3 separate regions of the Homo sapiens genome follow, and regions 2 and 3 are each linked to region 1. Evidence: promoter capture Hi-C in 16 types of primary human blood cells and fetal thymus (Javierre and others, 2016). All regions are on one chromosome and are shown on one strand. Each heading gives the region's core, a stretch centred on a gene start or on the middle of the fragment in contact. The rest is flanking DNA. Distances are from core to core; before and after follow the strand shown. Region 1 holds the start of IRF6 (interferon regulatory factor 6). Region 2 overlaps CAMK1G (calcium/calmodulin dependent protein kinase IG). Region 3 overlaps LAMB3 (laminin subunit beta 3).

The links. Contacts are between HindIII fragments. The CHiCAGO score rates a contact against its expected background, and 5 or more counts as called.
Region 2: a contact is called between a fragment that was not itself captured here and the fragment with the promoter of IRF6 in region 1, in 1 of 17 cell types (naive CD8 T cells). The highest score is 5.7, in naive CD8 T cells.
Region 3: a contact is called between a fragment that was not itself captured here and the fragment with the promoter of IRF6 in region 1, in 1 of 17 cell types (neutrophils). The highest score is 7.6, in neutrophils.

What each region holds. Positions count from the first base shown.
Region 1 is chr1:209,804,135-209,807,732 of GRCh38, forward strand. It overlaps IRF6 (interferon regulatory factor 6), which reads right to left and starts at 2,008. Exons shown (of 9, transcript NM_006147.4): 1 at 1,813-2,008. RefSeq lists a silencer at 1,930-2,273. The HindIII fragment of the contact is 4,987 bases long and covers 1-3,091 here.
Region 2 is chr1:209,598,611-209,602,208 of GRCh38, forward strand. It overlaps CAMK1G (calcium/calmodulin dependent protein kinase IG), which reads left to right. Exons shown (of 13, transcript NM_020439.3): 3 at 1,373-1,501. Among named protein-coding and RNA genes, the nearest start is that of CAMK1G, 17 kb to the left of the region's middle. The HindIII fragment of the contact is 4,679 bases long and covers 1-3,598 here.
Region 3 is chr1:209,631,652-209,635,249 of GRCh38, forward strand. LAMB3 (laminin subunit beta 3) reads right to left here. Exons shown (of 23, transcript NM_000228.3): 6 at 2,796-2,987; 7 at 1,419-1,482; 8 at 932-1,125. Among named protein-coding and RNA genes, the nearest start is that of MIR4260, 9.9 kb to the left of the region's middle. The HindIII fragment of the contact is 3,335 bases long and covers 344-3,598 here.

The DNA.
Region 1 (3,598 bases), core at 758-3,257:
TAACCTCAGGACAATAAGACATTTCTTATGAAGGATGGTAACAACAATCCTTTGTATCTGTGTAGGCTTTACAATTTTTACATGAACCTTTACCTAACATGTCTGATTTCATCCTCATAAACCTGAATGTGATATTACTATCCCCATTTTACATCTGGGCTGAGGTGCTTTATTTCCTAAGTCACAGTGTTCTGTACCAAACCCTGCCACTGCACCTTGTCTTCCATGTCCCTCTCATCTTCTGCGCACCAAGAAAGTAAACTAAAAACATCAACAAAGATCCCAGCAGCATAGAGGGCCAATAAAGTGATTGAGGTGGAGACTGCATAACATCCACTCTCAAACACACCTAAATCAGAGTTCTCTTTCTAAACACTCTTGCCACCCAAATCCCAACGCCTGAAGAACCACCTTAGCCTAGTTGAACTCATCTTGGTATCTCTAGCTGCCATCACAGCAAAATGTAAGGCCTGTGTCTCTAACAGGTACTTAAACAGCCAAAGGACAATGATGCTAACCTATCTATTCCCCTCACAGTGAGCATAGAGGAGGGACACTTTCAGCCTCCTCCGAGCATAACTGTCCTCTCCCATACCCCTATTCTAGGGAGCAGGTCCTCCATAAACACCCTCATTGCCACCTCCATAGCTCCTCCCCAGACTAGTTTCCAGGGGCACTGCCACACAAAAGCCGAGATTTGGCCGTCAGTGGTTTTGCTCAGGTTAAAACACACGCCATTTCTCGCAGACAATTCTTAGCAGTCCCAGCTCTTCCCTTTCTCCTGAAAGAAATGAAATGCCATCGTCTAAGTTCCGTTCCTCAGGCTTCCCTGTTTAGCCCTGCTTAGGGGTAAACTGCAGGCCTCTAGTCAAAATGCCCACACCCTTCCCTTCTGCTGGATGGAAGCTGGGGGATGGCGAATGGGAGTTACAAGGTATTGAGTGCCACTGTCATACATCATACACACGTCTCATCCTAAACCACACTCCTGGGTCAACACCAGCTTTCACCAATCCCACCCAAGCGCCTTCCTCTCTCTATCCATCTCTTTTCCCTGACTTCCACTCTTGACATCCACCAAGAGAACAGGTTGGAACAGGATGACCCCTTTACCACAAAGCAGGCTCCCTGTAAAGAGTGACACCTCAGGCCTCCTTTCCAAGTCAGGCCTGGGAGACTTTCCCCATTCTCCACACCACCCTCCAGCCCCTTCGGGCAAAGAGGGCCCACCCCCAGAGCAACCACACCCCAGCGCCACCCTCCCCAGCACCTAGCTCCGCTCCTTGGAAATCCAAGGTTGTCTCCCAGGCCCAGGGCGAAGGGCCTAACTGTGCCAAACAGACTCAGGGAGGGAAGACAAACCGCCAATGCTCCAAAGCTCCTGGCCACCCTCACTCCAGTTTCCCAAAACGCCCACTAGGATCAAGGACCTGCGGACCTGGGAAGTCCCCTCTCTGGGACACAGGGGCCAGCCGCAAGTTGGTAAGACTGAAGGGGGCGCGGTGCTTTAGCTCTACCGGATAGTGGGGTTGTTGACGGCCGAGAGCAGTGCCCTCCGCTTCGGCGGTGGGGGTAGGGAGAGTAGACACAAGTGTAGATTCGAGAGGGGCCTAGCGCTACAGAACTGAGGCCGCCCCAAAGCTATCTGGAAAAGGGCGACAGGCACCCAGCCCCAGTGGGTACCCACCCCAAACACACAGATGCCCCCAAGCAAGTTCTCTCACCCCCTACAAACTCCGGGGATGGGTCCTACCCCACCCACGGGGGAGCCTCTCCTCCCTCAAGCTGGTCCCCAGAAGTTGGCGTACCCACCTTTGCTCAATCTGTCCACCAGAAGCGGACGTCCCTCCGAACCAAGTCCGCAGCGAAGATCACCCGTCGCTACCACGCTCCTCGACGTCTTAGCCAAGGGGCGCCTGGCTCTACCCAAGTAGGGACTGCAGGTTCCTCTCCCCGTCCCGCACCAGCCCTTACCTGCCCAGCCCAGGTGCGCCGAGCTCACGTCAGCGCCTCGCCCCAGGACGCCGCAGCCTTCGCATCCGCCCGGCCACGCCTCCCAGGTGTGGCCACGCCCCCCGGCGTTCGGGATTGGCGAGTTGCAAGAAATATGACACTCCGCGTTTCTGGGCTGCCCGGCCCAGCGGCGTCCGTCCAGCGTCCCACCCTACTCCTCCGCTTCTAACTCCGGCTAAGAAAGTCCCAGATTCAGGCCTAGCCTTACGGCTCAGGGCTGGTGGTCCTGGGAACTGGAAGCGACTGGGAGTTCAGATCTAAGTCGAGAGGGTGCCTCCCTCCTTCACGGCCCATAATTACCCTGCAGTATGCAGACAGTTAAGCACAAATAAGGGTTTTGAGATTCTGGGTTGGCCCTACTACTCGTGGGCCTGTGTAAGTGGAGTTGCACATGAAGAAGAGAACCAGGACACTTGGTCCTGTCTGGGAGAAGCCATAGGCTTTCAGGACTAGAATTCTACCTTTACTCTGCCTCTTACCCGTGTGACCCTGGGTAAGTTACTTAGCTTCTTGGCTTCTTGGTTTCAGTTTCCTCATCTCTTCAATGAGAATAATAATTCCTTCCTTCTTTTTTGTTGTTGTTTGCTTTTTTCTCTTTCTTTTTTCTTCCTTTTTTTTTTTTTTTTTTTTTGGAGATGGGGTCTTGCTATTAAGTTACACAGTCTGGTCTGCAACACCTGGGCTCAAGGGATCCGCCTCAGCCTCGCAAAGTGCTGGGATTACAGGCACTGGCACCCAGTTCAATTCCTTTTTTTTTTTTTTTTTTTTTTTTTAGGCAGGGTCTGGCTCTGTCATCCAGGCTAGAATGCAGTGGCACAATCATAGCTCAACCTCCTGGGCTCAAGCAATTATCCCACCTCACCCTCCCAAGTAACTGGAAATATAGGCATGGGTCACCATGCCCGGCTAATTTTTTTTTTTTTTTTTTAGAGACAGGGTCTGACTATGTTGCCCAGACTGGAGTTCCTGCTTCCTCTGATCACTATCGTGTAATGAGTAAAAGCATAGCCTCTGGAGCCAACTATTGGGGTTTAGACCCCAACTCCATCAGTTACTACAGACTTGGGAAAGTTTCTTAAGCTTTTTAGGCCCTGGTGTCTTATCTGTAGAAAGAGGTTAGTAATAGTACCTACCTCAGGGGTATTGTGGGAATTCAATAACTACATGTAAACTGCTTGCAACAATATTTAGCACTTATCAAGTGCTTTATATGTACTTGCAATTATTATTGGCATAAAGATTAAAAATACCATATAGACAGTGCGTCAGAGAACAAGAAGGCATTCCTTGTTATTACCTGAAATTCAAGTCCTGCATGTACCCTAACAGGTGCTTGATGAGATTGCCCTCACCTTCCTCATCTATCTAGAGGACCGGTTTGCAGGAGGCTGTGCAACAGTAAATGAGACTTTTAAAAATCCCCCACCCTCAACCACTGAGCTGTCGTAGGTGAAATGGGGCATGCGCAGGTCACTTAGGTTTTGGTGTTTAAAGTAATGAGTGAGAAACTGTGGAGGAGTGGTACAATGAGTTGAACTGTCACCCACATACAAAAAAATTTGTATTTGTATTTTGAAGTCCTGAC
Region 2 (3,598 bases), core at 426-2,925, 210 kb before region 1:
TTTCTTCCAATATGGTCTTCAAATTAGAAAGCACATTAGCATGTCAGATACAACTGCCATCAACATAACTCAGCAGCGCCCACATGACAATGAAGAGTAATTATCAGTCCTTCCCTCATCTACCCTTTCACTTTGCCTCTAAGTTTGATTGTTTAACTTTTTAGTTGGAAATAATTTCAAACTTAGAAAAACGTTTCAAAAATAAGAATAACGCCAGGCTTGGTGGCTCATACCTGTAATCCCAACGCTTTGGAAAGCCAAAGGAGAAGAGCTGCTTGATCCCAGGAGTTCAAGACCAGTTTGGGCAACTGGGTTAGTCTATTTTTATACTGCTATGAAGAACAGCTTGAGACTGGGCAATTTATAAAGGAAAGAGGTTTAATTAACTCACAGTTCAGCATGGCTGAGGTGGCCCCAGGAAACTGACAATCATGGCAGAAGGTGAAGGGGAAGTAAGGCACCTTCTTCACAAGGCGGCAGGAAGAAGTGCCAAGCAAAGGGGGAAGAGCCCCTTATAAAACCATCAGATCCCGTGAGAACTCACTCACTATCCTGAGAACATCATGAGGGAAACTGCTCCCATGAGCCAATCACCTCTACCTGGTCTCTCCCTTGACACATGGGGATTATGAGGATTATGGGGATTATAATTCAAGATGAGATTTGAGTGGGGACACAAAGCCTAACCAGATCAGCAACATAGTGAAGCCCCATCTCTAAAAAAATAATAAAATAAAATAAGAATAAGAATGGTAGAAAGAATTTCCAAATGCCCCCTGCCCAGATTCACCTCTTGTTCACAATTTCTCCCATCTGCCTTCTCATTGCTATGTTCTCTGTAGATCTGTAGAGATAGATGTAGAAAGATGATTCTTTCCTAATCTCCCAAGCGTTAGTTGTGGACAGACATCATGAACCTTTACCTATCAAGGACATTTGTGTATATTTCTAGGGATGGGGTATTCCCTTACGTGACCATAGGACAGTTCTCAACTTCAGTCAATTGAACATGGACACATTAAGTGTACCTAGTCTGTCTTCCCTACTCCAGTTTTATCAATTGACCCTATTATGTGTTTTATAGCATTTTTCCCCTCCAGTACAGGTTCCAGTCTAGGGTCTGATATTTCACTTGGGTGTTATCTCTCCCTAGCTTTTTTATGACATTGGCATTTTGGAAGAATACAGGTTCCCCCCTTCCCTTTTTTAAATTTTGTGCTTTCCTGATGTTTCTTCCAGATTTAAATTCAGTATATGCCTTTGTGGTCAGAGGACTATATAGACTCTGTTACGTCCTTTCTGAGGTCTTACATCTGGAAGTGTAAGATGTCTGCCCCCTACTAAGTTTTATCTTTTGGTGTCTTCTCCTCAGAGGAGCTTTCTCAGAAGTTTTCCTGGTGAAGCAAAGACTGACTGGGAAGCTCTTTGCTCTGAAGTGCATCAAGAAGTCACCTGCCTTCCGGGACAGCAGCCTGGAGAATGAGATTGCTGTGTTGAAAAAGTGAGTGGGTCTTAGTGTTGACTGGATCACTATGGGATCACAACATTTTCTTCACAAATTACCTTCAAAAAGGACTAGGACTGGATTTCTGCACCCAAAGGCATTGCTCACTTTGATTGAGTTGATGGGTCAGTTCAGTCAATTAGCTAAGTTTAGTCGGACAGCTGTCCTAGCTGATTTTTTTTTTTTTGGCAACAAATTGATGAGCAAATCCACTGGTGGCAGAACTGGTTTGTGCACACAGGCTGGAGAGTAATTAGCTCAAAGGAACAAAAATCAATTGAGGGCCAACATCAGGAACAATTAATAATTAAGGAGGCAGCATAAGATTTGGAAATTAGCTTCAATTTATAACAAAGCAAATGGAGGTTCAGCACCCCAACCATCTTGATGAAGGCAACACTACAAATCATCATATGTTTACAGCAAGACTCTTACCACAGACCCTTGTGAAACCCTTATGGTGTACCAAAAGTGTATTAGGCACATGAACACAGGATCAGAACCACAAGGATGAGGCAGACAAAATTCCTTACCCTCAGGAGCCTATGCTGGATACAGAGGTGCCTATAAGAAAATCCAACAAAATCGGATGTGAGTCACACTAGCAGAAGGCAGAGTTTGGAGGAGATAAAGATTCATTTTGCCTATGCATATGTTTTTATGAGTATGAGTTATTGGACCACTTTCAAAGAAGATGGACCTTGATAGATGAGTCAAACTTTGTGGGGGCAAGAAAGGCAATGCAGAAAGGGAATTCAGGCCAAGACTAGCATAAACTTTAATGTAGAACCATGAAAGTGCAAGGGCTTTTAGGGAAGAGTGAGTATTGGAAATCCCTGAATTTAGAGTATATAGTATTAAAAGACAAGTGATGAAACTAAAATCATGAAATGAGACCTGATTACAAAGGATCTTAGATGCCATGATAAGGAATGTTGGCTTTATTCTGTGGGCAAAAAGAAGTCATCAAAGGATTTTAAGTGAGGAGTCACATTGTCTGATTAACATGTTGGAGCTATCCCTCTCAGGCACAGTGGAGGATGGATTGGAGGGTGCCAGCCTAGAGGACAGGAGGCTAATTATAAGACTTTCACAATAATTTAGGCATGGGTTGAGAATACAAGCAAAGGTAGTGGCAGAATCATATGTGCCTAAAAGGACTAGATACTAGAGATGTTTCAAAGAGAGAAGTGATTGGGTTTGGGGTTGACTAGTGAAAGTATACAGGACAAAAGCATAAAAAGAGACCCTGAGATTGAGCAATCAAGTGGACAACAATATAATTGCTAGGGGTGGAGAACAAAGAGGATATGTAGGCTTGGATGAAATAGAAAGAAATTGGTTGGAACATACTGAATATGAGTATCCACCTATCTCAACATGAAGGCATTTCATAACATGCTGGAGACACAGGTCTAGGATCCAGGGATATTAGGGCAAAGAAAGACTCTCAACTAATTGAGAGCAAGGACCATGTCATTTTTCTTATTATTGCCTTGTATCAACAGTATTTGTGCTCAATAAATGTTTGTTCATTGAGTGAATAATTGATAAATTAATGTTAGCATTGCCAGCTTCTGAGTATAGTTGAATTCATCAAGAGACAACTGACACAGGTCTATATTTTCTAAAATATCGTAAAGAAGATAGCTACTATTGATTATGTGTTTACTATTACCCAGACACTGTATTAAGCATTATGCATTATCTCCTTTTATCCTGATACAATTCTATAAGAGACACATACTTTTCAGACAAGGAAAGTAAAGATTTGAAAACTGGAATAAGCCAGCTGAAGTTATCTAATTGCCTGAGCTAGATCTGAACCCAGGCCTGACTGACTCTGAGCCTAAGTCCTTAACCCCTGTGCTGCACAGCCAGGAGTAAACTTCCTAGAGAATTTCCTCCTTTACAGGCAGGCACAGCATTGCTGCCTGGCAAGCCGAGCCCCTCTGCTAATATGATTATTCTGCTTGACTCAGTCTCTGAGTAACCCCAAACAAGGGTAATGTAGGGCTGGACTTCTCCACCATGATGCTGTCGACATTTTGAAACAGATAATTATTTGTGGTGCTGGGGGCTGTACTGTGCAGT
Region 3 (3,598 bases), core at 761-3,260, 170 kb before region 1:
CACCAGGGCTGGGTGGCTCCCTCCCACCTCGTCATGTCATAGCATGTTGTATTCCCTCTGTGTCACTCAGCCTTGGGTTCTAGGAGTATGTCTCATGGGCCCTGACAGATGACACACTCCCTGAGCTGGCCTCCCTCTGTACACCTCTGCAGCCTGGGGCAGAATTTGGCCCAGAAGTGGAAAGAAGAATGCCAGCTGAGGCTTGTGCCACCTCTATTTCCCACTCAGGCCATCTTACATGATTTCCTCCTGTCCCCCTGTCACTAGGACAGCTGTCACGCTCCCATGTTGGGTCCCTCTGCTTCTTTGCTCAAGGTTCTCTCTTCTCTACCTGTGGTTCTCAAGCTTGGTTTCACAGCAAAACCCCTTGGGAGGGGAGGGCTTGTTAAACTGGAACGTCTCAAACCCCATCCCTGCTGAAGCCAATCCGCCTGGTCTAGGGTAGACTTAGCATCTGTACTAAACATTGGTCTCTCACCGTGCCCCATATCTCACCACTAGCTGAGACTTTAAAATCCCCAAACCAGTGGCTCTCAGACCTGGCAGTACATTCGAGTCACCTGGGAGCTTTAAAAGCCAATCATAAAATTAGAATATCTTAGGGTGGAGGGCTGGGCAACATTTTTAGCTCTCAGTGAAATTATAATGCATAACGAGGGTTGAGAATCATTGGCTTAAACTCCCTCCCAATTTCCACACTTATGTAAATGAAATGAAAATCATCTCAAATTAGGAAGCAGATCTAAAGAAGTACTAAATGATTCTGATTTTTGGAACGAAAACCACTTCGATTTTTTGTTGTTGCTGCTGAAGTATTAAATACCCAAGTCTTAGATTTAGTGCCCTTCCTGCTTTACAGGAGCCCCAAGAATGTCTGTAGTCTGCCCTGGTCCTGCCCCCTTCCTCTCCCCTTCCCACCCTAGGCTGTTACCTGCACAGCGGTGGAGGGGCCTGCAGAGGCCCCAGGCTTGGGTGCGCAGCGATCAGCATGGCCGTGACAGAAGCAGCTCCCCTGCAGACGGAGCTGGGACACAGCATAGTAGGCGCTGGGAGGGTGGTAGCCCCTTTGGGGCACAGGGGCCAGCCTGGTGAAATTGACTCTCAAGTTTGTGATCTCCCCCACCTCTGAGAGGGCCAAACAGCAAGGAGGGAAGAGTTGGAGAATGGAAAATAAAGAAAGGAAGTTAGAGGCACATAGAGTCTCCTTCATATGTGATACCGTGGGCCATCCTCTCCAGACCTCAACCATCCCATAGCATCCCACAGACAATATCCCTATGGGGCAAGCAGGGCAAGTATCAAATCCCCAACCACGTTGACAAAAACATGAAAGACCAGGAAATTTCCATGACCTGGGCTCCAACTCTGTTTCCTTTCCCACCCATAGTTCCATGGACAAGAGAAGTAACCACACTGACCTTGAATTTTTTGACTTTGAGTTGCTGGAATCCCAGACACTAAATCCATAAGGTTAAGTTGGACCTACAGAGGGAAGGGAAAGAGAAGCGCTGAAGAAGAGACAAATAGTGTGCCCCGAGTTCAGAAGAAACCTTTCTTTCCATTATATGCCTCACACTTGAAGTCCTTGTTACCTGGAACCTGAGATAGACCATGGCTATGAGGCTTGTCATCTGCTGTGGGGGAGAAAGATGATCACTGGGCCCTAAACGTGTGTGTGTGTGTACCCCACCCCCAACCCCTGCCAGTTGAAAATATAAGTATCCTAAGAATTTTCTGAGTTCCCTGGGTCAAAAAGTATGGTAAGATATATCATCTACATATAAGGGTTTAGGAGATACTAATTTTCTGATGACTCAGGATGAGTGAGAAATCTAAAACCCAAGGATGCGTGAATGTGGGTGACCACAGCACTCTGGACAATCCCAGTTTCAACTATGCTTTGATTTATTCAAAAAAAAAAAATCCACTCATCATCTACATATCCCAGGAAGAGTTTTCACATCAGCCCTCCACAAGTTAGGAAAAAGTTCTTATCTGGTGTGTGAAGAATGTAGTTAACATAGATTTGCGTAAGGGTATAACCAAGGAGGAACTGCTAAAACCAAAGGAAGAGTTGCATGGCCTGCATAGAGGGCCCCACTCTGAGCATCGGTCCACATGAGAGCAGCTCTGAGGGCTCACCTGTGTCTCAGCCAGGGAAAGGAGAAGAGAAACTACAGCCTCCTCTGCCAGGGGATGGGGAAACGCAGTTATGAAAGAATTTGACCCACGTTGGGAGGACTTAGGGAGAAACATTCTGAGTTTTTCTTCAGGCAGGTTCTTATTTCTAGCTCAGGGTTTAAGCTCAGGAGAATTCGGGCTCTGGGTTTACCAGAATTCCCTCCAAGGGCTAAGACTGGGTTAGATGGATAGATTAAACTGAAAATGTTTATTTTTGTGTTAAACCCTACCAAGGTGAAATGAAATTTGTGTAATTTGCTCACTTGCATCTAACTAGCATCCCAAAGTCCTCATATCAAAGTAGGGTCGATTTCATCTTCCCACTAGAGGGATGAGCCAATGAGTCACGGGGGAGGGGGCTGTGGAAGACGGCAGGGGTGAGTAATGCGGTGGCCCCAAGGTGTTGCTGAAATATCCTTCCTCAGCAAAGAGGATAAGCAGCAAATGTTTTGAGGGTGGCCACAGGGGTCATTACTGGTGGGAATTCAGGAAAGTCAGCAAGGGGAGCTGGCGAGGGTGTTTCCGTCCCTTCTCAGGAGTCCGTGTGGCTGTGTGAACAGTGGGACATCAGGGATTTCTCCCCAGGCCTACTTTTCAGGATTCCCTCTACCTACCTTCCCCCCATTTAGGCGTGCATTAGGCCTCTGAGGCAGGGACTGGCACCGAACATCCTGCCAGCTCTGAGGCCGACCCTGGCGGACCCGAGGGAAGGTGGAGGTGCAGTCGGCAGCCAGGTACTGGTACACTCGCCAGGTCTTACCGAAGTCTGAGGAGCGCTCAATCAGCATGCCGGCGGGCATGGGCCCCTGTGGAGACAGGGGCAGTGTGCAGAGGGGAGGCACTGGGGCTGTGCCCCGTGGAGACACAAGCAGAGAGACAGGCTCCTCCAGTGAACTCGGGAGAAAGGGGGCCCAGTGGGAGCAAGTGGGCTCGGAGCATCCGGGTCCAAACCTCCTGGCATACCACAGGCCACAGAAGTTTCTCCCAGGATCTGCCTTCCAGGAGTGATCCCTAGCTCAGCTCACCAGGCTTCCAGGATAGACATTTCTCTGCTCCTACACTTCGCACAGTTGACCATTTTTTATTCTCTCTCTCTCTCTCTCTCTCTCTCTCTCTCTCTCTCTCCTCTCTCTGTCTCTCTCCTGGAACTCATGTCCAGCCTCCTCTGTCATGGCCCTCCAAACCACATTCCCCACTCACCAGAGAGCTCTTCCTGGGTGATTATCTGATCTGTGAGAGCTTCAATCAGTCTGCATTGATCTCATGATATAAACTGAGCACCTTAGCATGACATATTGAGTCCCTGCTCCTTCCTACAAAATGATTTCATCCATTTTGGGTGGCTTTAAATGTGGTCTTTATGCTGACAGCTCCCAGCTTGAACAACTTCCTGGAACTGCAGGTCTATAATAAACTC